Regions from separate parts of the Homo sapiens genome. Here all the other regions are linked to region 1. Evidence: promoter capture Hi-C in 16 types of primary human blood cells and fetal thymus (Javierre and others, 2016). All regions are on one chromosome and are shown on one strand. Each heading gives the region's core, a stretch centred on a gene start or on the middle of the fragment in contact. The rest is flanking DNA. Distances are from core to core; before and after follow the strand shown. Region 1 holds the start of MED13L (mediator complex subunit 13L). Region 2 overlaps LINC02457 (long intergenic non-protein coding RNA 2457). Region 3 overlaps MED13L (mediator complex subunit 13L). Region 4 has its middle 14 kb from the start of LINC02457. Region 5 overlaps MED13L (mediator complex subunit 13L). Region 6 has its middle 38 kb from the start of LINC02457. Region 7 overlaps MED13L (mediator complex subunit 13L).

Region 1 (3,462 bases), core at 624-3,123:
CTCATCAACAGTATCTTAATAGAAATTCTCAATATTGGCCTGAGGTCATTGGGTCAGCAATCAGGATCAATTTTTGAGATTAGGAAATGAGGCTCAAAGAGTTAAACTATGTTGGTCAAAATAATGCAATTAGAGGGATGGCAAAGCCAGCCAGAGGCATCTTTCTAAGGAGCCTCCTGAATTCATGCTCGGGCTCTGGAGTCAGAAGGACCTGAGTTTGAGCCATGTACTAACTGAGAGATTGGAGATGTCACTGCACACCTCTGAGTTTTACCTAATTACAGCCTAAGAATAATAACAGTATCTACTTTAGGTGGTTGTTCTGCGGATTATGTGAAATAATGTAGGTAACGACATTCATTGTAACAATATGTTGCATGATAATACACATTATAACATGTTGCTCATGAGTTTTGCTTTAGCAGTATTTGTGGTAGTTCCAAAACTCAGTTCACGTGTCTTAAGACTTCTCTTATTATACACTCTCATCTCTTCCCTGCTTTCTACTCTTCCTTTTTTTTTTTTTTTTTTTTTTTGAGACAGGGCCTCTCTCTGTCACTCAGGCTGGAGTACGGTGATGCGACCTCGGCTCACTGGGCTCACTGCAGCCTCTGCCTCCAGGGCTCAAGTTATCCTCCCACCTCAGCCTTTCGAGTAGCTAGGGCTACAGGCACATGCCACACTACGCCTGGCTAATTTTTGTATTTTTGTATTTTATTTTTTTTGTCATGACGGGGGTTCTTGCTACATTGCTCAGGCTGGTCTTAAACCTCGGCTAGGATTACCGGCGTGAGCCACTGTGCCAGCCATCCACTCTTCCTCTTTTAGCTTAATCTACCTGAAACAGCTGATTGTTCCATGTTTGGAGGCGTATTAGTGAAGACATTGTTTTCTCCTCCCCCTTTTCGGGGATCCATTTCTTGAGGACTGGGAGAGCTTCTCTTCATAGCAGCACTCCTCCGGACTCCCAGGCCATATACACTCAGGAAATGTTGGTTATCCAATGAATGACGCCAGGAAGAAGGGTCTGCTCCCAACACGGCCTTAGCACAGTGCCTGGAAGTTATAACAGATTCTGGCACACAGCAGGAGCTCAGGAAACATTTATGTAATGAATGAATGAATGAATGAATGAGTGCACACAGTAACTAGGAGTAAGGGCTCAATAAACATTTCTGTATTAAACGCACAGTGTCTGGAACACAGTAAGCGCTCCGTCTATGGCAGCCGTGAATATCCCTGGGCGAAGCCTGTGAAACCTTGTCCAAGAGCTTGGCTTCACTGTGCGCGGGTTCGAATCTGGACTCCTCTTCCCAAGTGTGCGACCTCGGGCAAGTGATTTAATCCCTTTGTGCTTTAGTTTTCTCCTCTGCAAAAGGCGGACGGCGGCGCGAGCCTCTGAGGACACATTCCCCAGGGCACTCGGACCCGCTGCCTGGCCCACATCGCGGCCGCCGCGCCACGCCAGCCGGCCTGGGCTGCGAGGGCACAGGCCGGGGGTCCCGCGCCCTCCTCCGCGGCCACCACGGGCGCGCCCGGGACCCACGGTCCCGCCCCGCCACGATCAGTGCACCGCGAGGGGGCGGGGCGGCCACGAGGGGCAGCCCACGGCAGCCACGGGCCGGCAGTCCGCCGCCCGCCGGGGAGCCCGGCCGCCCGCACTTCTTTCTCTCCCTCTCTGCCTCCCTCCCTCCCTCTTCCCGGCCGGAGGACCCGGCCGCGCTCAGCTCAGCAGCGCCTCCCGCGAGCCGCCGCCGCCGCCGCCACTCCGGACCCCTCCCCCGCCCGCCCCTCGCTCCCCCCGCGCGGCCGGCGCCCGTCACGTGACCAAGCGCCAGCCAATGGCGGGCCGAGCCGCGGTCGGCGGCCGCCATTGCTGTCAGAGCAAGCGAGCCCGGGGAGGGAGGAGAAGCGAGGCTGACTGGGGAGGAGGGGGGGGTGGGGGAGGAAGAGGAAGGAGGGGACGTCGCTCGGCTGCCGGGGTCGCCCGCTGGCTTCGTCCGCACCCCCCCCTTCGCGAGTTCGCGCTCCGCGGCGGCGGCGGCTCCGAGGCGGCGGCGGCGGCTCCGGGGCTCGCCTCCCCTCGCGCGCCGGCGGGGGCCGAGGGGGAGTCGGTGGCTGGAGATAAACAAGGCGGCGGCAGCGGCAGCAGCGGCGGCGGCGGCGGCTGAGGAGCAGGGAAGGCGGAGGCGGTGGCCGGCCCGCAGCGCCGGCCCGGGGCGCGCGCCCCCCCCGCCAGCCCGGGCCCGCTGCCCCCGGCGCGGCGTCGCCGCGGCGCCTCCCGCCTGCCCGCCGGCCCTCGCGCCCTCCCCCGGCGGCGGCGGCGGCCCGGCCGCCCCGCGCTCCCCGGCGAGGCGCCGCCGCCCGGCCCGGCCTCGCCTCGGACGCCTCGCTCCGACATGCCCCGCTCTGGCGGCCGGGCTCGCGGAGGATCATGACTGCGGCAGCGAACTGGGTGGCGAACGGGGCGAGCCTGGAGGATTGTCACTCCAACCTCTTTTCGCTGGTGAGTAGCCGGGCTGCGGGGAGGGGGCTGTGCCGGGGAAGGGGGGGGGTCCCCGACCTCCGCCGCCGACCAACTTTCTCCTCCCGCCGCCGGGACTTCGCCCCTCCCTCGCGTCTCCCCGCCGTTCGCCTCTCGCCGATTCTCCCCCTTTTGGATCGTCTCTCTCTCGCCTTGGATCCCATCCAGTGTTTATTTGGCTCTTTAAAAATCATTTGTGAGCGCGGCGCTCGGCGTGGAATTTGCATGTGGAAGTCTCGGAGCTGCGGATTCTGGGTCGCACTTCGAACGCCCACCCTCTGTTGCAATCGCACTCCCCTTCTCCTCCCCTTTCCCCCCTTTTTTTCCCCCCGTAAATGTGGAAGGCTTTGCCTTGTGCTGCCGCGCCTCCGATCGGCAACCTCTTCCCCCGTTGTTGGATCAGCTGCCTGCCCGCCCGCCTGCCTTTTGAATTTTTTTAAATTCCATAATGACACCTGCAATTTCGCCCTAAAATAGTTGATTGAATGCGATTGTGTCAGGAAAGGACTCTTGCACCCGAAGCTCCCGCGATTGTAAACATCGACAGCCGCCTGCCTCTCGGGGCTTACTATGCTGGAGAGCCGTAAAGCCATTGCACCGAGCCGACGGAAGGTGGAGAAAGCTTTTTCTTCTTTCTCTCCTCCTGTGTCTTTTAAAAACTGTTTTTCTCTATCCTAACAACGAATCCGCACACACACACACACACACACACACACACACACACACACACACAAAAGCAACAAGCTGGTCGGTTTGATAACATCGCTTTTATCTGCCTTCGCCTCTCTCGCGCTCTCTCTTTCTGATAATTGACAACTTTTCCTTCGGATTTGAATCGCCTGCCTTAATCTTGAAGCAGTTAGGGTGTCAATTGTTCTCGTGGAAGCCTGGCACCCGCCGACGGTGTCTAGATTCATCGAAATTAAAAATGTATAGGG
Region 2 (3,462 bases), core at 542-3,041, 240 kb before region 1:
TAAATAAATAAATAAATAAGAGTGTGGATTTTACTCTAGGTCGGGGGGAAGGGGAACTGAAATTCACATAGGAACCACCTATGAATCACCTCCACCTATGAAGCTGTGGAATGAATAAATGATTTAGAAATAGTCTTCCATTTGCAAGCTTAGGCATCCAAGTCTTCGGCAATTGCATCCCTCTCTGATCCCCCTCCAGGACTCCTTACCTCTGTCACCCCGTGGGGCTTTTTGCATATATGCCTGTAAATGGTTATCAGAAGACCCTGGCTGAGGTCCTCTAGAGCTGCTGCACTGCCTAACTCCAGGGCGGTAGCAGTGGTCTCACTGTGTTCTCTGTCAGTGACACTCTTTGGCATGCAACATAGACTTGGATGAAATGGTGCTTCCTAGACCTGTGCAATTGGGGGTCCTGGCCTGCCTCTGATGCTCACTAATACATGACCTGAGCAAGTTGCGAGCTGCCTCTGGGTCTCTGTTTTATGGTGTATGAAAAGAGACCCTGCCACACCTACCTCCCAGGGTTGTTGAGCACTTCCAAAGAAGAATATCTCACTGCGGCCCTCGGATGTGCTTCAGGCATCAGCAGACACCCTGACATTTCATTAAAAAAGTGAGAGGTGTGTATGTGTGTGTGTGTTTGCTATGCAAGTGCATTTTCTACAAAAGAGAGGATCCAGGCCAGGTGTGGGGGCTCACGCATGTAATTCTAACACTTTGGGAGGCTGAGGCAGGAGGATCACTTGAGCCTAGGAGTTCAAGGCTAGCAGTCAGCCAAGGTGGCACCACTGCACTCCAGCCTGGGTGACAGAGCAGGACTCTGATTTTGTTTGCAGGGAGAAGAAGGTGCAAGAGAGGGGGAGGTGGGGGAGAGAGAGAGAGACAGAGAGAGAATCCAAGACTGTCTCCTCAGTTTCTCAAAGAGATCCATGATCCACCCAAGCTGAAAAGGTATTAAACACCTGGTAGTTGGAACTGCCTTGGCTCTTGAAGTTGCTCTCTTGCTCTGAAATCTGGTTCAACATTTGCATGTAGATGTTTTGTTTCCTCTCCGAAGTCTGTAAGCCGCTTTGCTTGGTGGGAGGGGGCTGCCTGCATTGGCATTGACTCTTGCCTCCCCACGTCACACCATGCTGACGCCTGGCTCCCATAAACCTGCCAAGCAGCAATCTGTCAGCCCAGGGCCAAGTCCTCCCCACTGTCCAAATTGGAGGACCCCAAGGCCCTTCCTGCTGCACCAATGGCCAAGAGTGGATGGAATGAGCGAAATCATTGTGTACTATCAGTGAGCTGGCGATTGCCTTACTCCTGCAAGGTAATAAGATGCCTTAACCCAGTTAAGAAGCTTCTGCAGGTTACCCCCAAGGAGCCATCGCTAATGCTGGAGATTGCTGGCACCATGGTAGGCCAAGGAGGAAGATGTTTCTGTTTTCAGGGAGAAGAAGATGCAAGTGCTTTTAACCTCCTCCCACCCACGCAAGGTTGACCCTGAATGGTTTATGTGTCTGTGTTACACACACATCCAGCATAGCACCCAGCACATTACAGGCACTTAACAAAAGTAGTAAATAAATAATGGTCCTTTCCAGCTCATATGCCCACCACACCCTCCAGAGATTGTAATGCAGTACACTCACCTCTCATCTAGCCGAATCTTAACTGCTTCCCCCACCTCTTCCTGACAAGTAATAAAGTTAATAATACCTTGTGTGGCTGTTGTATCTTTCTTCGCAAGAACTCCAAACACTTGGCTTCATCCTCATTTCTGAATTAGATTGAAAAGGGCTGGGGGTAAGAGGAAATCCTACTGACCCACACCCACTCCCACCTAATCGATGTTATTTCAGGGAAACTGAGGCCTAGTTAGGACAGGAAATTCTTCGTCCAGATCTGCAAGTCACAGGCAGGTGGGACTGCGAAAAAAGACCTCCCCTGCCCTATTCCCAGTCCTGAATTTAATCTGTCCTGAAACAATTGAAATCTTTTTTTGGCCCGGAGGCCAGGCAGATCTAATTCTGCTAATGTCTGATAGTCCTGCAGTTCTTGAGGTTTGGGAAAACCCCCTTGCTTGGGAAGCTACCCACGGGAAGAAGAGGTCTCTAACAGTATACAGCCAGAGACTGAGAGCTTACCTGCCACCTGGGACCACAGGGAGTGCAAATGAAGTTCCTGCCACACTCTCCAGGGGATATGAATCAGGGATTCAGGGTGGGCTTGGATCTACATGACAAGCTTTGACTTGCCTACCTTCCTGGGCTTCCAGAACAAAGCCTGTGGTGGTGAAAGGCTATATACAATGAAAGAGAGAGAGAAAAAAAAAAAGCATGCCCTGGGAAACCACCTGGCCTGCTCCTGGTTCCCATTAGCTGACTAACTCAAGGAGAAAGTGAGTTAGGAGTTTTTGGGCCTCTGTTGTTTCATCAATTAAATGGGTTTAATATTAATTGCCCTGTGTGCCCCGAGAGGTGATCAGGAGCATGAAGCAAAATAACAGATGGGAAAGTGCTTTGAAAAAATATCAGGTACTCTATTGAGATAACATTGTCGTGAACTTGGCAATGCAGGCTAGGCTGTCTGAGGATCACCTGCAGAACTTCAAAGCTGAAGGGGAACTCGGGGCTCAGAGGGGCCATCATTTTCTGGAAGAGGCCAGAAGAAGGGAAGTGGGTGTGGCAGGCTGAAAAATATCCCCCCTCACCCCAAAGATATCCCAATCAAATCCCTAGAACCTGTGAATGTTATCTGGATCAAGGGTCTTTGCAGACATGATTAGATCAATTTTCTTGAGATGAGGGGATCTCCCTGGATAACCCAAGTAGGCCCTAAATGCAATCACTCATATCCTTACAAATTAGACATGCAGAGAATGGACACACAGAGAAGCAGGGAAAGCAATGTGAAGACAGATGCAGAGATTGGAGTGATGAGTCCACAAGCCAAGGAACACCCAGAACTACCAAATTGGGAGGGGGCAAATGAGGATCTTCCCCTAGAACCCTCACGTTGGTTTCAGGCTTCTGGGCTCCAGAACTGTCAGCGAATACATGTCTGTTTTTCTAAGCCACCACTTTGTGGAAATTGATTACAGCAGCATTTGGAAACTGACACCATGTGAGGTGTGCAAATTCCCACTCTGTGTTGGTAGCAGAGCTGGGCATCCTGGCTCCTCGTCCACCGTGCGTCACGTCGCCGCTCCGCCTGGCATCTGCAGGAGAGGTTAGGAAACACAGTCATCTCCAAAGCTCAGGGACAAGGGAAGATGGCAGTGGCCACTGAACCAGCTGCTTTTGGTAGCATGGGAGGAGAGGCAAAAGGGGACATTGCACATCAAGTGCTGCCTCTCACGAACCAGCCGATGCTGGAACTCACAAACTGTCCCACAGAACAAGCCTGGGATAAAGATCTAGTGTCCTGGGCCGGGCGCCGTGGCTCACACCTGTAATCCCAGCACTCTGGGAGGCT
Region 3 (3,462 bases), core at 705-3,204, 230 kb after region 1:
GAGTTGATTTTATATATTGACTTAGAAATGTCACTTCATGCATGTAATTTTTATTGATTACCTACTACTTTATTAGGTAGTTGGTAATAAAAGAAATACTTTATTATAGAAATATATATATATTTATCTACCTAAAATATGTCTTGTTATTGGTGATTTTGAAAGGCTGGTTAAACATTTTTTGTGACTTAATAATTTTTATTGCATTAATATTTTTCTTTTCCCATTTTACTTGTAACCTGTCTAAAGATGGCTGCTGATACAATAGCAACTCTGAACTGGATCCCGTTTGGTAATCCTAATGTTTATGATGTTATTTACTTGAAAATTTGTTATGTTAATGTTGGTCAAATTATGTTAAATATGAGGTTTATAGCAGAGCATTTTTCACCACATATATACTATTACCAGATACGCTGTGACTCATATTTTATGTCATACCATAGTTTTCAGTACAGACTGTCCATAGATTAAATAATTAGTTACAAGTCCACAGGGGCTAGTAAAGGAAGAGCTCCTACCAAATCAGAGGCAGTTAAGAAGCACCAAAGACCCCCATCTAGAAGCCGAGTACAGCCTCTGCTAGCAAGAGGATGGGAGGGAATTTTTCAGAGCAGCTCAGACAGGAGCTGAGCATGAGAGAAGGGCAGTTTGTGGATGTGCTGAGGCTTTCATTTGTTGTCTCAGCCAGGGGGACTCAGTACTATGTAGGCCCAGGATTGGGATGACCAGATTAAAAGCAGAGAAGAGAAAGGAAAGGAACACCAGTGTTCAAAAGGATTTTAGGCATTTTATTATCGTTTTGAACATTATTCTATACTGAATCCAGAAAGAACATGTAATATTTTCCATCTTTGGATTTACTGCCTGAGAAAGTCACTAAAATATAACGGTGCATTTTACCCAAACAAATAAATAGAGAAGGAGGGGCCCCCTCTTTTCCTTGCATTTAACTCCTTGGATTTATGTGTGTTTTGTAGTTATCTGTAGGGTCTCTTACTATACCCTTTTTTGCATATACAGTTTGCATACCATTTGACAGACATAACTAGACAGAGGAGTATGAATGGATCCACCCAAATTTACCAAGCCACCATGAAAATGACACAAGACTCATCCTGTTGACAGTAGCTTGTTAGCTGATACAACTTCATATTCTAGGGATGAGATGATTTTTGATGATGAGCTTTGGTTCACTTGTTTAATCTTGATTAGTGGTGTTCTGTTCTATTCTGAGGCTTAAAAAAGAAACAGAAGACTTGGGTTCTTTCCAGATGTTTCTTTGATGTGACTTTTCCGGGGATTAGTGAGGATGACAATATTTTTCTACCTGATGATTATTTGCGGGTCATAGTTGTCTACCAGATTCTCAAATGTTGTCTCAGCTCACATGCTCAGAGAAATATTCCTTCAGTGAGATAATCTAGCCAGGCTTTTGAATCTGTCTTTAGATGCTGTTGTGTGTTCTTAGGAGTTAGGATTTCCACCTATAGTATGGCCTCTTTTTTCACTCTTCTTCCCACTAGTATCACAGAGCTGGTCTTAAACTTTGACCATTTGATTTCTCTGTGTTGGTGTGAAGTGAACACAGAGCTAACATTCACTTGCGCTTTCTTTCGTGTGGAGTTGTTTGAACTGGCAGAGCTCCTGAGTCAGCAATACATTCGGGTTATGCCAAGATACAGACTTCACTTTTCTCAGTGCTGAATCTACATAGAAACTTAATTGGTTAATTTTTTTGAAAACACTTACTTATGGAACATTTGAAAAGTGCTTAAGTTGGCTTTGAAATTTCTGAAACTAAATCCTGCATTTGTAATCCATGGGGTGGGCACTAGAATACCAAGTTGATTTATTCTTGTGATTAAGATCCAGGAACAAAAAAGAGGACCTCCTTCTCTTGCTGTTGGTTAAAATAGAGCTAGCATATAGTACAATGGCGTTATTCTTGGTCACATGAACTCTTAATGCTTTCTTGACACATTTGTTTAGAGAAAATATTCTTAAAACATGGACATCTGCTTTATATGCAGTGGTAAGAATCTTTAGACTACACATGAATATTACATTGAATTAACCCTATTAATTAGGCTTCTGAGTTGTTCTAGGAAAAGGACTCAGCTTTGTGGCAAAGTGCCAAACATATGCCAGTTTGAATAAAATACATGCCTTTCTATTACTTTTCCCCTTCCCCACTGTTTGAGCATCATCAAGTCATTTGCTTTAGGTTGGGATGGAGAAGAATCTGCCAGTGCGTAGGGGTATGGATTGAGCTGAGTGGCTTTATTCCTGGATATCTATTTATACATAGTCAAGATAAATAGATACATGCATGCACACATACTATGAAAAGCCAGATGAAGAGTATACTCTTGGTTCCCAGTTTAACTTGCCTGCTTTTATTAAGAAAAATGTGACACATGTACTGATTATCCTAACATGTTTTAGAGCATGTTTTACTTTTTGTATTAGATTTCTCTGATAATGCATTTCTTTTTCTGTTACTAAACATGATTAATGTACCACATAGTGTTAACTGTGCTCTTTCCCCCAAAGACATCAAATGGGAGGCAGCATGTAGAAGCTAAATTATTCGGAGAGGAGTCAGTGATTGATTTAAATATAAAAGGATTAATTGGTCCCTGAACCAGACTATTAAACTGTACTGTGATCTTGACTGAAAGTGGAAGAATTACAAGTGCATTGCATAGAATAAATTAATACATTTTTCGTGGCTTTAATCCTTTTTTTTCTGTATTGCTTATTGTGGTTTTATGTACTGTACTCTATTGTATGCATAATTGATGCAGAAGGGATTCAGAGTATCATGATTAAATGGGAGAGGGGGATAGAACCATTCCTGAGGTTTAAGGTGGTACAGTTCTTCTTCCAGGATAGCTGAATGTATCTCCACAGAATGAATATTTCTTGGAATTCTTACCAGTGATGACCCCAGGCACAGAAAGAAGTTAAATGTTACTGAATAAAAAAATTAAAAGTTTACGTTCTGTGAGGGCTTTGTTTAACATGAACATCGGCTAACAGTGGGTAAATATAGCCCTTTATCCTTGAAAGAATTGAACTGAGACTTCAGCTCTTGAGGGTAAACAGTGTAATGGCACCATACCCAGATAAAATTTCCTTCTTTTTATAATTATTTCTATTCAAACAATACTGATTTTTCTCATTCCACCTCATAGGCTAATACTTCAGTCAGACAGGATGCTGGGTTTTTTTTTACGCTATCAGCCTCATCTGTCCTTTCCAGGGAGAAGAAATGTGTGTTTATTCACCTCTGTTATATTGCTGCTTTTATAAACAAAATGTAAATCATGTAAGTTCTGCTTTCAAATAGTACTCCTGGTAATAAAAAAGCAGAAAAGTTTGATTCAGGGGGCTGATTTAAGAATTCATGTATATGTGGCTTTACTAGTAATATAAATTTCAAGTTTTAGAATGGTA
Region 4 (3,462 bases), core at 429-2,928, 220 kb before region 1:
CTGGAATCACCTGAGGTGACACTCTTTAACTTAGAAGCACACAGTCAAATGGCTAAACTTGGCGACACAAATGAGTGACTTGAGCATGTCACCAGCCACTTGTCACATTCACTCACACGCTCAAGGGGTCAGTTGTACTGCAGTAAGCTGGTTAACTAGCATTTGTCAGGCTCTCATGAATTGCTGAAATACAGCAATGGTGGCAGTAGGAGGGATCTAATTGCAAGGGCAAATATTTGTTCCTGTGGACAAGGAAATACGGAAGAGGGGCCCCTTTAGGAGTTTCCCAGGAGGCGTGGTGGCTCACGCCTACAATCCCAGCATTCTGGGAGGCTGAGGCGGGTGGATCATCTAAGGTCAGGAGTTCGAGACCAGCCTGGCCAACATGGCAAAATCCCATCTCTACCAAAAATACAAGAATTATCCAAGCGTGGTGGTGCATGCCTGTAATCCCAGTGACTGGGGAGGCTGAGGCAGGACAATCGCTTGAACTGCAGAGGTTGCAGTGAGCCAAGATCGTGCCACCGCACTCCAGCTTCGGGGACAGAGTGAAAGTCCATCTCAAAAAAAAAAAAAAAAAAAAAAAAAGTTTCCCAGGGAGGCAGTGAGGAATTAGAAAGCCATCGTAATCCATCATAGTTAGTCTTCAAAATGAAACTTGATTGGCCGAAATCAGACACTCAGCCTGTCTGAATGCTCTGATACTATGGACTTGACAAGTCAGGTCTTCCCCGAGTTCCAGCACTTCAGTTCCCCACGAGGAGGCCCAGAGACTAATAAAGCCCAAATAGTTAAAATCTCCAGAATCAGCAAATCCACACAGAAGACCTTACATCATCCGGCTCTGCGGGCTTCAGCTTCAGTGGCCGGTGTGGAGCGCTTTTCAATTGTCTCCATTCAGTTCCTCAAGTGGATCTCGTATGCCGAATGAGATCTTTATCATTTGTCACAGGGGTGATGCATGCTGGGCCTGCTACCGTGGAGTCAGTCCTGGCTGCATAAAGACATCAGCAGCTCGACAAGGCTCTCTCAGCCCCTGCCCTGTGCTGCTGTCTGGGCTGAGGATGCCAGAGCTCCCATGTCATTCACCTGTCCTGGAATGGGGCTGCCTCTTTTCTCATTTTAGCTACGCCCCTCCCAGTGTCAAAGTCAGAACCTCAGAGAAGCGATTTGGTCAGACTGGGTTCATCACAATTCAGCAAGTGGTTATTGATAGGTAGTGGACAGATCCGTGGGTCTGGGGGCTGGTCTCAGCTCTGCCACTTGCTGCCAAGTGCCCTCGGGCACATCGTTAGAGCTCTCCAATAGAAATGGAAATGAGAAAACCTCCCAGGATTCTTGAGAGGATGAAATGAACTAGAGAAAGCAGAGACCTAGGCAAGTCCATGACCGGTTCAGAATAGCATGTCCTGTCTCTAGCAAAATCCACACTATTAAGACATTTGACACAGGCCAGGCATGGTGGCTCACACCTGTAATCACAACAATTTGGGAAGCTGAGGTGGGAGGATGGTTTGAAGCAAGGAGTTCAGAACCAGCCTGGGCAATATAGCAAGACCCATTCTCTACCAAAAAAAAAAAAAATACAAAAAATAAAATTAGCTGGGTGTGGTGGCTCAAGCCTGTAATCCCAGCCCTTTGGGAGGCTGAGGTGGGAGGATGGTTTGAAGCAAGGAGTTCAAGACAAGCCTGGGCAACATAGCAAGAACCCATCTCTACAAAAAATTACAAAAAAATAAAATTAGCTGGGCATGGTGGTGAACACCTGTATTCCTGGCTACTTGGGAGGCTGAAACAGGAGGATCACTTGATCCCAGGAGTTTGAGGCTGCAGTGAGCTATGATCATGCTACTGCACTCCAGCTTGGGTGAAAAAGTGAGACCCTCTTTTGAAAAACAAACAAACAAAAAAAGACTTGTGACATAATATAGCAGTATTGATAAAAATACTTATGGACACAACAATTTGAATGTATGAAAAACCACTTGAACTATACACTTAAAATGGTTAAAATGTAAATTTTATGAGGTATTTTATACCTTTTATTTATTAAGAGACAGTCCCTCTATATTGCCCAGGCTAAACTCAAAGTCTTGAGCTCAAGCTATATTTCTGCCTCAGCCTCCTGAGTAGCTGGGACAATAGTTATGTGCCATCTTGCCTGGCATACACCATGATTTTTAAAAAGAACAATCACTTACTGAACAGTTATTACTTATGATTTTTGTTTTTGTTTTTGTTTTTTTTGAGACATGGTCTCACTCTGTCACCTAGGCTGGAGTGCAGTGGTGCGATCTTGGCTCACTGCGACCTCTGCTTCCTGGGTTCAAGCAATCCTCCTGCCTCAGCCTCCTAAACGGCTGGGAGTACAGGCACCCAACACCACATCTGGCTAATTTTTGTATTTTTGGTAAAGATAGGGTTTTGCCATGTTGGCCAGGCTGGTCTTGAATTCCTGACCTCAAGTGATCCACCTACCTTGGCCTCCCAAAATGCTGGAATTACAGGTGTCAGCCACCATGCCTGGCCCAATTATTACTTTTTTTTTTTTTTTTGATGGCGTCTTGCTCTGTCACCCAGGATGGAGTCTGGTGGTGTGATCTCGACTCACTGCAACCTCCACTTCCCAGGTTCAAGTAATTCTCCTGCCTCAGCCTCCCTAGTAGCTGGGACTACAGGCGTGCGCCATCACGCCCGGCAAATTTTTTGTATTTTTAGTAGAGACAGGGTTTCACCATGTTGGCCAGGCTGGTCTTGAACTCCGGAGCTCAGGCAATCCACCGACCTCAGCCTCCCAAAGTGCTGGGATTACAGGCATGAGCCACCGCACCTGGCCCAATTATTACTTTTAAATGGCAAAAACCGCAATTACTTTTGCACCAACCTAATACTCTGTGCTAGGTGTTTCACCTGTATTTAATCCTCCAAGAACTCCATCAGGTGGAAGACATTATGTCCAATTTAAAGATGAGGAAATGATTCCCAAGCAGCCACCCAAACTGGCAAGCAGCAGAGTTGGGGTTCAAACTATGTCCATCCGACTCCTAAATCCACACTTTAACCTTGACATTTTAATGTCTTTTTTGCCAAAAGGTGGTATTGTTGGGTTCCTATTCAGTCCATCAGAGAAGCAGCTCCATTCATACATGCAGTCATCTGACTTCAGTGAGTACCTGATCGGTGCCAGGGACTACGTTAGCTTCGAAGGAGACAAAGATGAATGACACCCTAAGGGTACTCCTATCATAGGCTAAGGCAGCAAACAGGCAGGGGAATAAACACAATAATGAGTCCTTTAGGAGCCGAGAGAGTTGTAAACAGAGAACCAGGAGGAGGGAAGTCTTCACAAAGAAAGGAACATCTGAGTTGAATTTTGTTTTATGTTGTTTTTTGTTTCGAGACAGAGTCTCCCTCTATCATCCAGGTTGAGTGCAGTGGCGTGATCTTGGCTCACTGCAACCT
Region 5 (3,462 bases), core at 343-2,842, 210 kb after region 1:
TATACACACACGTACACACTGCATAATGACACTTCAGCCTACTATGGACTCCATATATGACATAGTCCCAAAAGATTATAGTGGAGCATATGTAGAAACCTGATGTATGGCACTTGATATTGGCATTGCAGATCAAGTAAGAGGTATAATTAATATTTAATAATGTTGCTGGGACATTTGATTTTCCCTATAAAATTTTATATAAATAAAAAATATATACCATTTAGGTTTGTCTGGGTACAATCTGTGTTGTTTGTACAGCAATGAAATCACTTAGTGATGCTTTTCTTAGAAGGTACTTCCATTGTTGCTTGACTGTATATACATATAGACACATATATTTATTTTAAAGCGGACTATATGCCACACATTGTGCTAGATGCTGGGGATGTAACAGTGGACAAAATGGATGGGGCCCTTGTCCTCATACCATTTATAGTTGAGTCATGCTCTACAATGTGGAGATTGGGTACATAATGGTGTGACGAGTCTCAGTGCCGTACCAGTGTCAGATGGAAGAGCTGTAAGGAGAAGAAGCTGCCCTTTTGGCAGTATAGTACCGTAGAAGGTTTAGTTGCTTTGTTGTGTGTTTAAGCAGTCTTCCTTGTTTGCCTTCACCAAAGTAGCTCACTGTTAGACTTGCTGAGTATTAATGAGACCCTGGGAACTCCCTTCTCCAGCTGAGACATCAAGTAAGCTGTTGTTAAAGCTTCTTGCTTTCGGTCATACTTTCTTCCCCAGGCATCTGGGGCCCCAGATTCCAAATTTTTTAGGAACAGAGAAACTTAATCAAATTGACCTCTTTTCATAAGAAATAAGTACAGCTGGCCCTCCATATCGGTGGGTTCTGCCTCCAAGGATTCAACCAACCACAGATTGAAAATATTTTTAAAAAGTACGTCTGTACATACTCGGTTGGCTAAGTCTGAGTATGTACAGACTTTTTTCTTGTAATTATTCCCCCAATAATACAGTCTACTATTTACATAGCATCTACATTGTATTCAGTATTGTAAGTAATTTAGAGATGATTTGAAGTATGCAGGGGGATATGTGTAGGTCGTATGCAAATACTAGACTTTTTTTTTTTTTGAGACGGGGTCTTGTTCTGTCACCCAAGTGCAGTGGCACATTCGTGGCTCACTGCAGACTCAACCTCAAGGTTCAAGTGACCCTCCTACCTCAGCCTCCTGAGTAGCTGGGACTACAGGCATGTGCCACCACACCTGGCTAATTTTTTTATTTTTTATTTTTTGTAAAGGTGGGGTTTTGCCACATTGCCCAGGATGGTCTCCAACTCCTAGAGTCAAGCAATCCGGCCACCTCACCATCTCAAAGTGCTGGGATTATAGGCACAAACCATGCGCCCAGCCCAGACCATTTTATATAAGGCACTTAAGCATCTGTGGATTTTGGTATCTGTGTGGGGGCCCTGGAACCAATCCCCCGTAGGTACAGTGGGATGACTCTACCACTGTTTATATTTTTGTATTAGTAATATCACAACAGTACCATAATGATACTAAGTATTAGAAAAATTTTAAAGGTGTGTATTTTGATAAACAGTTTTTTTCCTTGGAGGTAGTGGTGGTTAAAAAAGGCTTTTGCCTGATGAGTCTTAAGGCTTATAATAACCATTTATCTAGGTCAGTGAGAGTCAGTTTTGGAGGTACATAAAACTAGATTATTAATACTCGAAGGAAACAGTGGCTTAGATATCCAAACAATGCTTTTTGATTTGGTTTGTTTGTTTGTTTGAGACAGGGTCTTGTTCTGTTGCCCAGGCTGAAGTGCAGTGGCACGATCACAGCTCACTGTAGCCTGGATCTCCTGGGTTCAAGGAATCCTCCCACCTCAGCCACCCAAGTGGCTGGGACTAGAGGCACAGGCTACTATGCCCAGCTAATTATTTTTATTTTTATTTTTAGTGGAAAGGAGGGCTCCCTGTGTTGCCCAGGCTGGTCTTGAACTCCTGAGTTTAAGGGATCCTCTGCACTGGCCCAAAACAATGCTTAATTTTTTTCCTCCCTCAAGCCAGTTATATATGTATTATCTACTATCAGTACAAAAAAGTGGTCTTCTGGGCTGCCCAGGGGCTAACACAGACCTTGCTCTTATGGATGAGACTGGGCGGGGAAAGAAGACAGAAATGCCCTAAATTGGATATCAAATAGCCAGCTGCTGTGCTAAGGGCCTGGGTGGGCATTGCAGAGTAAGATTGTTTTGGGCTGCGTTGAGCCTCCAAGAATGATCTACAACTTATTTTGAGAAATAAAGTAGACAAAAAGGAGGAAGAGCCAGTATTTTGGAAGAAAGCAGCAAAGACACAAAAGCATCTCCACTTGGGTACAGGACATCTTGTACTTTACAGATTTGATTGGCATAGAGAAAGCAGCTTTCAGCCAGGGTCTGAAGACCTCTGGGACTCCATGTTGTGTGCTGGTCTGTGAGGCCATCTCAGTGAAAAAAGCTTTCACTCCAACCTGGGCCACTTTGGTGTTTTCCCCCTCTGTTTTAAAAATATACTGAGGCCGGGTGAGTTGGTCGGATCACAGGGTCAAGAGATCGAGACCATCCTGGCCAATATGGGGAAACCCTGTCTCTACTAAAAATACAAAAATTAGCTTGGTGTGGTGGCGCATGCCTATAGTGCCAGCTACTCAGGAGGATGAGACAGGAGAATCACTTGAACCCGGGAGGTGGAGGTTGCAGTGAGCCAAGATCGCGCCACTGCACACCAGCCTGGCAACAGAGTGAGTCTCCATCTCAAAAAAAAAAAAAAAAAACACAGAGAGAGAGAGAGAGACACTATTCTATTCATTTCCTATGAAGGTAATATTGTTCAATAGAAAACCAATAGAGGGAGGTTGAGGTGGGCAGATTGCTTGAGCTCAGGTGTTCGAGACAAGCCTGGCCAACATGGTGAAACACTGTCTCTACCAAAAATACAAAATATTAGCTGGTCTTGGTGATTCATGCCTATGGTCCCAGCTACTCTGTAGGTTGAGGTGGAAGGATCACTTGAGCCTGGGAGGTGGAGGTTGCAGTGAGCTGAGATTGCTCCACTGCACTCCAGCCTGGGTGTCAGAGCAAAATCCCATCTCAAAAAAACAAAAAACTGCACTACAGGCATGCACCACCATACCCAGAAAAAAGAAAATCAATAGAAGAGAATTGATTCAAGGTATTAATGTTAGCATGTGACTGTAATAGTTCATAATTTGGATTTCGGATAGAATTTTCCTTCCTTTTTTTTTTTTTTTTTTCGATGTGGAGTCTTGCTCTGTCTCCCAGGCTGGAGTGCAGCGGTGTGATCTCGGCTCACTGCAAGCTCTGCCTCCCGGGTTCACGCCATTCTCCTGCCTCAGCCTCCTGAGTAGCTGGGACTACAGGTGCCCGCCACCATGCCTGGCTAATTTTTTGTATTTTTAAGTAGAGATGTGGTTTCACTGTGTTAGCCAG
Region 6 (3,462 bases), core at 294-2,793, 200 kb before region 1:
AGGATAAACATGATAGAAAGCCACTTAAGTCGTGAAAGCCAATATCTAGCTTGGAATCCAAGAAGAATTAATTGATAACAAGGGTCATTAATCCCCAGAGCAGGATGCCACCAGCACAGATAATAGCATTTCAATTACTGGAGGGTTTCCGTCTATTAAAGCCTGCCTGTTTCTACAAGGCAGTGCTAACTAGCGCAGCCCCTAGGACACGGTCCCCCTTCCCTGCCGCCCATTGTACACAGCTCCCTTCATCCTTTGACCTCCAGAAACACTTACTGCCTATGTCCTGTCTTGTAGAGTGTGTATGTGTAGGCGTGTGTTAGGGACAAGAGAGATGGAGAGACAGAACCCCATTAGATCACAGAACTCTTAAAGCTAGAGAGCGATGTTCTATACTTTGCTTAGCTGTCTCTATTTAAATGCCTTTGTACATGTTTCTGTTACTATTACTCCTCTTACAATTAAAAATGTTTTAAAATAGCACAGTTAACACATGTTCATTGTAGAAAAAGCAGAAAAATCCTGACGAGCCACAAGAAACTAAAAAAAATCACCCATAACCCCTCTGCCCAGAAAGACTCCGTGTGCACATCTTTCCATGGTTCTTTTTGTTTGTTTTTTTTAAAAAAAAATCAGCCAAGTATTACATTCGTGCATGCAAACTGTTTAAAAAGTGTGGAATATAAGAGAGAAAGTGCTTATATTTTTCCTCCAATCCTTCACAGAGATAACCACTATTAACTGTTTAGTGTGAGTCTGTCAGAACTTGGTCCATATGAAACTCACCCAATTGTCCTATAGAACTGATGTTTATGGTTTCTTTGAATAAGCATAGAAACCGATCCTCCTAGCCTTAAAACTTGAGAAAGTTACAATTGTCTTATCAGAGTTCCTTTCTCAGGAAACCAGTCATCAGGCCTCCCAGATAGTATCAAGGAGCTAAAACTTACCAGGTCACTGCATTTGGACAATGAGATGTCAGTCCCCTCACAAGACATGATGGCCTAACTGACCACCTGCTTCCTGTTGACCTCCTCTTCCTTACACCTGTTTTCCCACACGTGGTTACATTTCTTCCCTGCTATATAAACCCCTGATTTTAGTTGGTCAAGGAGATGGATTTGAGACTGAGCTCCCATCTCCTCAGCTGCAGCACCCGATTAAAGGCTTCTTCCTTGGCAATACTCATTGTCTCAGTGATTGGCTTTCTGTGCAGCAAACAACAGGGCTTAGACCGAACCCCTCGTGTTCGATAACACATACATTGATAGACCTGTATGTGTATACAGCTATATATGTAGTATTAAAAAAAAAAAAAAGCCAGGCATGGTGGCTCATGCCTGTAATCCCAGCACTTTGGGAGGCTGAGGTGGGTGGATCACCTGAGGTCAGGAGCTCGAGCGCAGCCTGGCCAACATGGTGAAACGCCGTCTCTACTAATAGTACAAAAATTAGCCTGGTGTGGTGGCACATGCCTGTAATCCCAGCTACTCAGGAGGCTGAGGCAGGAGAATTGCTTGAACCCGGGAGGCGGAGGTTGCTGTGAGCTGAGATTGCATCACTGCACTCCAGCCTGGGCAACAAGAGTGAAACTCCATCTCCATAAAAAAAAAAAAAATAAAAATAAAAAATCCATAGACAAATTCATGCAATATGTACGTTTCTGTGATTTGGTTTTCTTTACCTATCCTAGAGAGCTGTACATATCAACTCGTTTAAATCTTCCTTATTTTCTTTGACAACTGGGTAACATTCTACTACATCAACAAATTGCAATTGGCAAGCCCACTCTTTCCTGATGGGTATTCAGGTCATTTCCAACTTATCACTAACACAAACCATACATCTTTGTCCACTTGTGCAAGTACTTTTGTGGGATAGATTCATAGAAGTGAAATTCTAGAGGCACTGTAATATGAAATTTAAATTTCGACAGAATTGTCAAATTCTAGGCTTTGCAGAGTAGCTCACGCCTGTAATCCCAGCACTTTGGGAGGCTGAGGTGGGAGGATTGCTTGAGGCCAGGAGTTTGAAACCAGCCTGGGCAACAGATGGAGACCCCATCTCTACCAAAAGATTAAAAATAATAAAATTAGCTGGGTGTGGTGATGCACACCTGTAGTTCTAGCTATTCGTGAGGCTGGGTGGGAGGATCACTTAAGCCAGGACTTCAAGGCAGCAGTGAGCCATGATGGTTCCACTGCACTCCTGCTTGGGTGACAGAATAAGACCCTTCTCTTAAAAATAAACATTTTCAGCCAGTCGCGATGGTTCACGTCTCTAATCCCAAGACTTTGGGAGGCCGAGGTGGGTGGAGGACCAGAGGTTGGGAGTTCAAGACCAGCCTGACCAACATGGGGAAACCCCATCTCTACTAAAAATACAAAATTAGCTGGCTGTGGTGGTGCAGGCCTGTAATCCCAGCTACTCGGGAGGCTGAGGCAGGAGAATCACTTGCACCCAGGAGGCAGAGGTTGTGGTCAGATGAGATCATGCCATTGCACTCCAGCCTGGGCAACAAGAGTGAAACTCCATCTCATAGATAAATAAATAAATAAATAAATGTCAAATTCCTCTCCAAAAAAGCTGTACCAAATTATACTTCTACTGGCAGTCCATGAGAAGATCTGATCCCTGTGCTATTGCCAAGAGTGGAAATGATCAATCTTTAATTTTGTGCATGTGCCCAATTTCGTGGGTGAGCGTGGTGCATCATTTTACTCTGTATTTCCCTGATTACTGCGAAGCTGAGCATCTTTTCGTGCGTTTATTGGCCATCAGCCTTCTTTCTATACATACGCACATACACACTTCTAAAATGTTTCACAAGGCTTTGTTATCATCTGCTTGTTTTCTCTACAGTACATCAAAAACGCCTTTCTATGTCAATGCACGCACACTTTTGCCTCATTCCCAATGGCTGTGTCACATGGCAGCAGCGCAAACTTCTCAATCAGTTCCTGATTGTCAGGAATTTAAGTTGCTCCCCATCTTTTGCTGTTCTTGCCAAAACTGTGGTGTCTTTATAGCTAAGTAAGATGTCGAACACTTTCGTATTTCCTTGGGATGAATTCCTAGAAGTGGAATTGCTGGTCAAAGGACATGTATTTTTTTAAGGTCATTGCTACTTATTGCCAAAATGCTCTGCAGAACAGCTGGTTGGAAGGTTTACATTCCCACCAGCAGTTCATGATAGTGTCCTTCCCTGGACATTGCCAAATGTCCACTGCAAGGACAAAACCACCCCCAACTGAGACCCACTTTCTTAGAAACAGAATGGTTTCAATGCCCAGGCAGCTGAAGATAAACATTCTTTTTACTCTCTCCTATGGTCCGACTCAGTGGTTCTCCAACCTGAATGTTCTGTGTGCAATGCCATATATATCCTACTTTATGGGCAGAGAATTTTCATCGGTAACTTGACTCCATCCACTTTTACCTTACACACTGACATGTGAACCT
Region 7 (3,462 bases), core at 248-2,747, 190 kb after region 1:
CCGAGGGCTGTTGAGAGCCTGCACCATGCACATAGTGTAGGAATTGGCCAGAGATTTGGGCAGAGTTTGTGTCTTTGATTCTCTTCTTTCCAGAATTTCTATTCTCATTTTCAGCAGCTGTGGTCTCTTTAACTCAGTCCTCTGGTTCTTTGCCACTAAGAACCAAGGTCGGGTTTCTGTTAGTTTTAGCTGTTGTGGTTCAGTCTGCCCTATGCTACAAACTGTTTAAAAAGGGGGGTGGAGGGGTAGGTGGACAACTGTGATGAGAATGAGGATGATTGATTCAGTGCCATTTCCTCCTTCTGGTGGTAAACTCTTTCCCCTCCCCCAGGATCTTCCTGCATTTGGTAACTCAGGTTTTTGCAGATTTTAATATCTTCTTCATAATTTATAGTTGTTATTTAAAGGGAGTGTCATGTTGGAGTGGAAGGAACTACTTTGTACTACTGGATGGGGAACCTGATACGTATTTTAGGATGTAAAACTTGACGTTGCATACCATCCTTTGTCAAGGAGGGTACCATCTTTTAAAAAATGTATAGACATAAAAGATCTTTATTATATATTTGGAGTTAACATTTATATAAAACCTTTTCCTGATGCACTTTTAGTGCTCTATACAAATGTTTCTTAACAGCCCTTATGAACTTTTTTTTGCAGAATGAGGTAGGATGATGAGAAATGAGACAGACCAGTAAGAGGAAGGAAGGTCTGGGAGGTGACCAAACAAGGCTGAAAGGCAGATGATAGGATTGTAAGGGGAATGGAGGCGATTGAGGGATGGCTGCCTGTTTGATTCGTAGTGTGCTGTTAGTAAATGGGGTCCTTTCTTTGAAAAGTGTGATCACACTTGGTAAAATTTTCTGACTGTGGCATCTGTGTAGCAACTTGGCAGCAGGGGGAAAGCATTGTAGATTAGAGTTAGATTTCAGAACATTTCTCTTTCGACAAGAATATTCATTTCTGGAAAGATGGTTAAGAATACAGTTTCATATTTTTGCTTTTGGTTGACTTTACACTTTTTTTTCTAACATTTTTTTCCTCATTAGTTTAAGGAAACAATTTAAAATGTTAAGAAAAAGATTACATAAATTCTATTAAGCTTGAAATTACTCACTTAAGCTTGCCTTTTTTGTGATGAATTTTATGGTATTGAATAAGATAGCATAAATAAAGTAGCTAATACAGAACCTAACATCTGGTTATTGTGTAATGGTAGCTGTTTGCTATTAGTAGTGAAACTGGTGGTAGTAATATTTAGAAAAAAATAAGGAGAATTTTTTATGATGTTGGTAATTTCTTGTACTAGAGAAAGCTTGCCAATCAAATATTTGTGAATCAGTTTTTATATACACAATTTGCATTAAATAAGGTAGGTGTTTCTACTATAAATCTTTCTACATAATGGCAATATAAGAAATGTCATATCGTATACTGATTTTACCCCTAAAATAATGACATCAGCTGTTTTCTAATTTTAAAGAAGTAGTCTTACCAAATGTTTGAAATCACCATGATTTTGGTATGAATTTGAAAATATGGTGTTTACTAGCATTGTGGTTCTGTTGCTATCCTTTTATGGAGTCAAAGGAAAAAATTTTGAAAATGCATAATGTATATTATAACAATATGACTATTTGTTGTGGAGTGTTAAATGATGTTATAAAAATAAAGCTTTTAAGTATGGTTCGTAGAAATTATTAGATCTGTCTCTGAGAACCTGTTAAGTGTGGCTTGCATGCTTCATTTAGGATTTTATTAACAGTTGTATAAGATTGAAGTATAATAGCTTGATATTTATGGTTAAAGAATATCATGGGGCGGGCACAGTAGCTCACGCCTGTAATCCTAGCACTTTGGGAGGCCGAGACAGGCAGATCACTTGAGGTCGGGAGTTTGAGACCAGCCTGACCAACATGGAGAAACTCCGTCTCTACTAAAAATACAAAATTAGCTGGGCGTGGTGGTGCAAGTCTGTAATCCCAGCTAGTCAGGAGCTGAGGCAGGAGAATCGCTTGAACCCGGGAGGCGGAGGTTGCAGTGAGCTGAGATCCCACTGTTGCATTCAAGCCTGGGCAACAAGAATGAGACTCTTGTCTCAAAAAAAAAAAAAAAAGAATTATCGTGGAAAACTGCTAAATTAAAATACTACATTTTACGGAAACTGTGGAGCTGCCTCCTTGATAGAATGTTAGGTCTGTTTTTGTTGTCTTCTGCCTATGTCTCTTGACTTGTAGTTTCTTTTGTTTCAAATCACTCTGCCCTCGTATATACTTTGGTTAGACTACTTTTGGTGAAGCACTCTCCAATAGAAGAACATAATGTGGTGTCAATTGTGTAGGGATCGCCCAAGCGTTGTCTAGCATTTCTGCTCCCCAGCAGAAGCCATTTTATCCAGCCAGAGTTGTCCTTCACAGTTCTAGCATAGTCTAAACTCATTTTCTCATTGTTCATATTCTTTCTCTCCCACCCACTCTGTCTTCCCTGGCAATTCAAGTTAAATTCCATCTCTCTTCTTTGAGTTGCTCCCCTGAAGTAAGATTTCTGTTTCTTCTGGCATTTTACCTCTAAATTTATCAATAACATGTTTATTCTGCTGTTCTTAATGTCGTGTGTGTGTGTGTGTGTGTGTGTGTGTGTGTGTGAGTGATTTTAATCTTCTCTTGAATTTAGAAGATGAGAATTTAGTCTTTCTCCTTTCCCCATTCCTACATTACTCCTAAATTGAATCTTTAATATAAAATCATTTATTTTAGTTTCCAGTGTACATCATAATTTTACCTTTTTTTCTACTCAGGATCTATAATTCCCAGCACAAAAGGTTGGATTAAACTGAATAGGACATACTTTTCCTTTGTAAATCTATTTCATATGCTTTAGGATCAAAATGGTAAATGAGGTTTGAAAAGTAATCTAACATAAAACAAAAATTGGGTTATGTCATTAAAATAGAAATAGTCTCTTCACCATTCTTATCTTGATGTTAAAAGATGATCTTTTAAACTATTTTCTAATTGGGTTGAGATCTTTGATTCTTATAATTATTGGTTTTGTATGGTTATTTATCAGTGTTATTCATTATTGAGTGGTTTGTTCAAGTTTGAGCAATTGGGCTGTTTGTGACCCTTATTTTACTATGAGTATTTTTTAATAGAAAGCCTACAGTACTGTTGGACTTTGTGCCCTGTCATGCTGGATTGTGAATTGCAATTCTTGTAGTAGAAATAGCCTCAACACATTTTGAGATCTTAAACGTGCTTCATATATAAAGTAGGAATTTGCACACAGAGGACCCTAGAGGGAACATTGTTAGGCAACATTTCAGGGATAATTATGTACTCTTGAAATTGAGTAGTATTGTTTCTTTAGTGTTAACTGTTATTGAGAATGTAGAAAAATAAACGGACATCGCAGTATATATAATTGAAAACAGTTGGCTAAAAGTATGTCCATGTTAACTGA

What was found. Contacts are between HindIII fragments. The CHiCAGO score rates a contact against its expected background, and 5 or more counts as called.
Region 2: a contact is called between a fragment that was not itself captured here and the fragment with the promoter of MED13L in region 1, in 15 of 17 cell types (monocytes, M0 macrophages, naive B cells and 12 more). The highest score is 21.0, in monocytes.
Region 3: a contact is called between a fragment that was not itself captured here and the fragment with the promoter of MED13L in region 1, in 13 of 17 cell types (neutrophils, monocytes, naive B cells and 10 more). The highest score is 12.8, in neutrophils.
Region 4: a fragment that was not itself captured here is called in contact with the fragment with the promoter of MED13L in region 1 in 8 of 17 cell types (monocytes, naive B cells, total B cells and 5 more); the score reaches 13.9 in monocytes.
Region 5: a fragment that was not itself captured here is called in contact with the fragment with the promoter of MED13L in region 1 in 16 of 17 cell types (naive B cells, naive CD4 T cells, total B cells and 13 more); the score reaches 16.6 in naive B cells.
Region 6: a fragment that was not itself captured here is called in contact with the fragment with the promoter of MED13L in region 1 in 15 of 17 cell types (monocytes, naive B cells, neutrophils and 12 more); the score reaches 18.6 in monocytes.
Region 7: a contact is called between a fragment that was not itself captured here and the fragment with the promoter of MED13L in region 1, in 6 of 17 cell types (monocytes, naive CD4 T cells, non-activated CD4 T cells and 3 more). The highest score is 9.3, in monocytes.

What each region holds. Positions count from the first base shown.
Region 1 is chr12:116,276,104-116,279,565 of GRCh38, reverse strand. MED13L (mediator complex subunit 13L) reads left to right here and starts at 1,873. Exons shown (of 31, transcript NM_015335.5): 1 at 1,873-2,506. The coding sequence starts at 2,435. RefSeq lists silencers at 1,465-1,524, 1,575-2,044. The HindIII fragment of the contact is 4,130 bases long and covers 1-3,148 here.
Region 2 is chr12:116,516,561-116,520,022 of GRCh38, reverse strand. It overlaps LINC02457 (long intergenic non-protein coding RNA 2457), which reads right to left. Exons shown (of 3, transcript XR_001749339.3): 2 at 2,133-3,205; 3 at 1-1,765. Among named protein-coding and RNA genes, the nearest start is that of LINC02457, 2.5 kb to the right of the region's middle. RefSeq lists enhancers at 653-1,153, 1,154-1,654. The HindIII fragment of the contact is 887 bases long and covers 1,348-2,234 here.
Region 3 is chr12:116,042,543-116,046,004 of GRCh38, reverse strand. All of the region lies in intron 4 of MED13L (mediator complex subunit 13L), which reads left to right. Among named protein-coding and RNA genes, the nearest start is that of MIR620, 100 kb to the left of the region's middle. The HindIII fragment of the contact is 7,745 bases long and covers 1-3,462 here.
Region 4 is chr12:116,499,866-116,503,327 of GRCh38, reverse strand. No RefSeq gene overlaps it. Among named protein-coding and RNA genes, the nearest start is that of LINC02457, 14 kb to the left of the region's middle. The HindIII fragment of the contact is 6,891 bases long and covers 1-3,462 here.
Region 5 is chr12:116,061,813-116,065,274 of GRCh38, reverse strand. All of the region lies in intron 4 of MED13L (mediator complex subunit 13L), which reads left to right. Among named protein-coding and RNA genes, the nearest start is that of MIR620, 85 kb to the left of the region's middle. The HindIII fragment of the contact is 1,761 bases long and covers 712-2,472 here.
Region 6 is chr12:116,476,129-116,479,590 of GRCh38, reverse strand. No RefSeq gene overlaps it. Among named protein-coding and RNA genes, the nearest start is that of LINC02457, 38 kb to the left of the region's middle. The HindIII fragment of the contact is 5,605 bases long and covers 1-3,462 here.
Region 7 is chr12:116,084,938-116,088,399 of GRCh38, reverse strand. The region is part of intron 4 of MED13L (mediator complex subunit 13L); the gene reads left to right. Among named protein-coding and RNA genes, the nearest start is that of MIR620, 62 kb to the left of the region's middle. The HindIII fragment of the contact is 359 bases long and covers 1,318-1,676 here.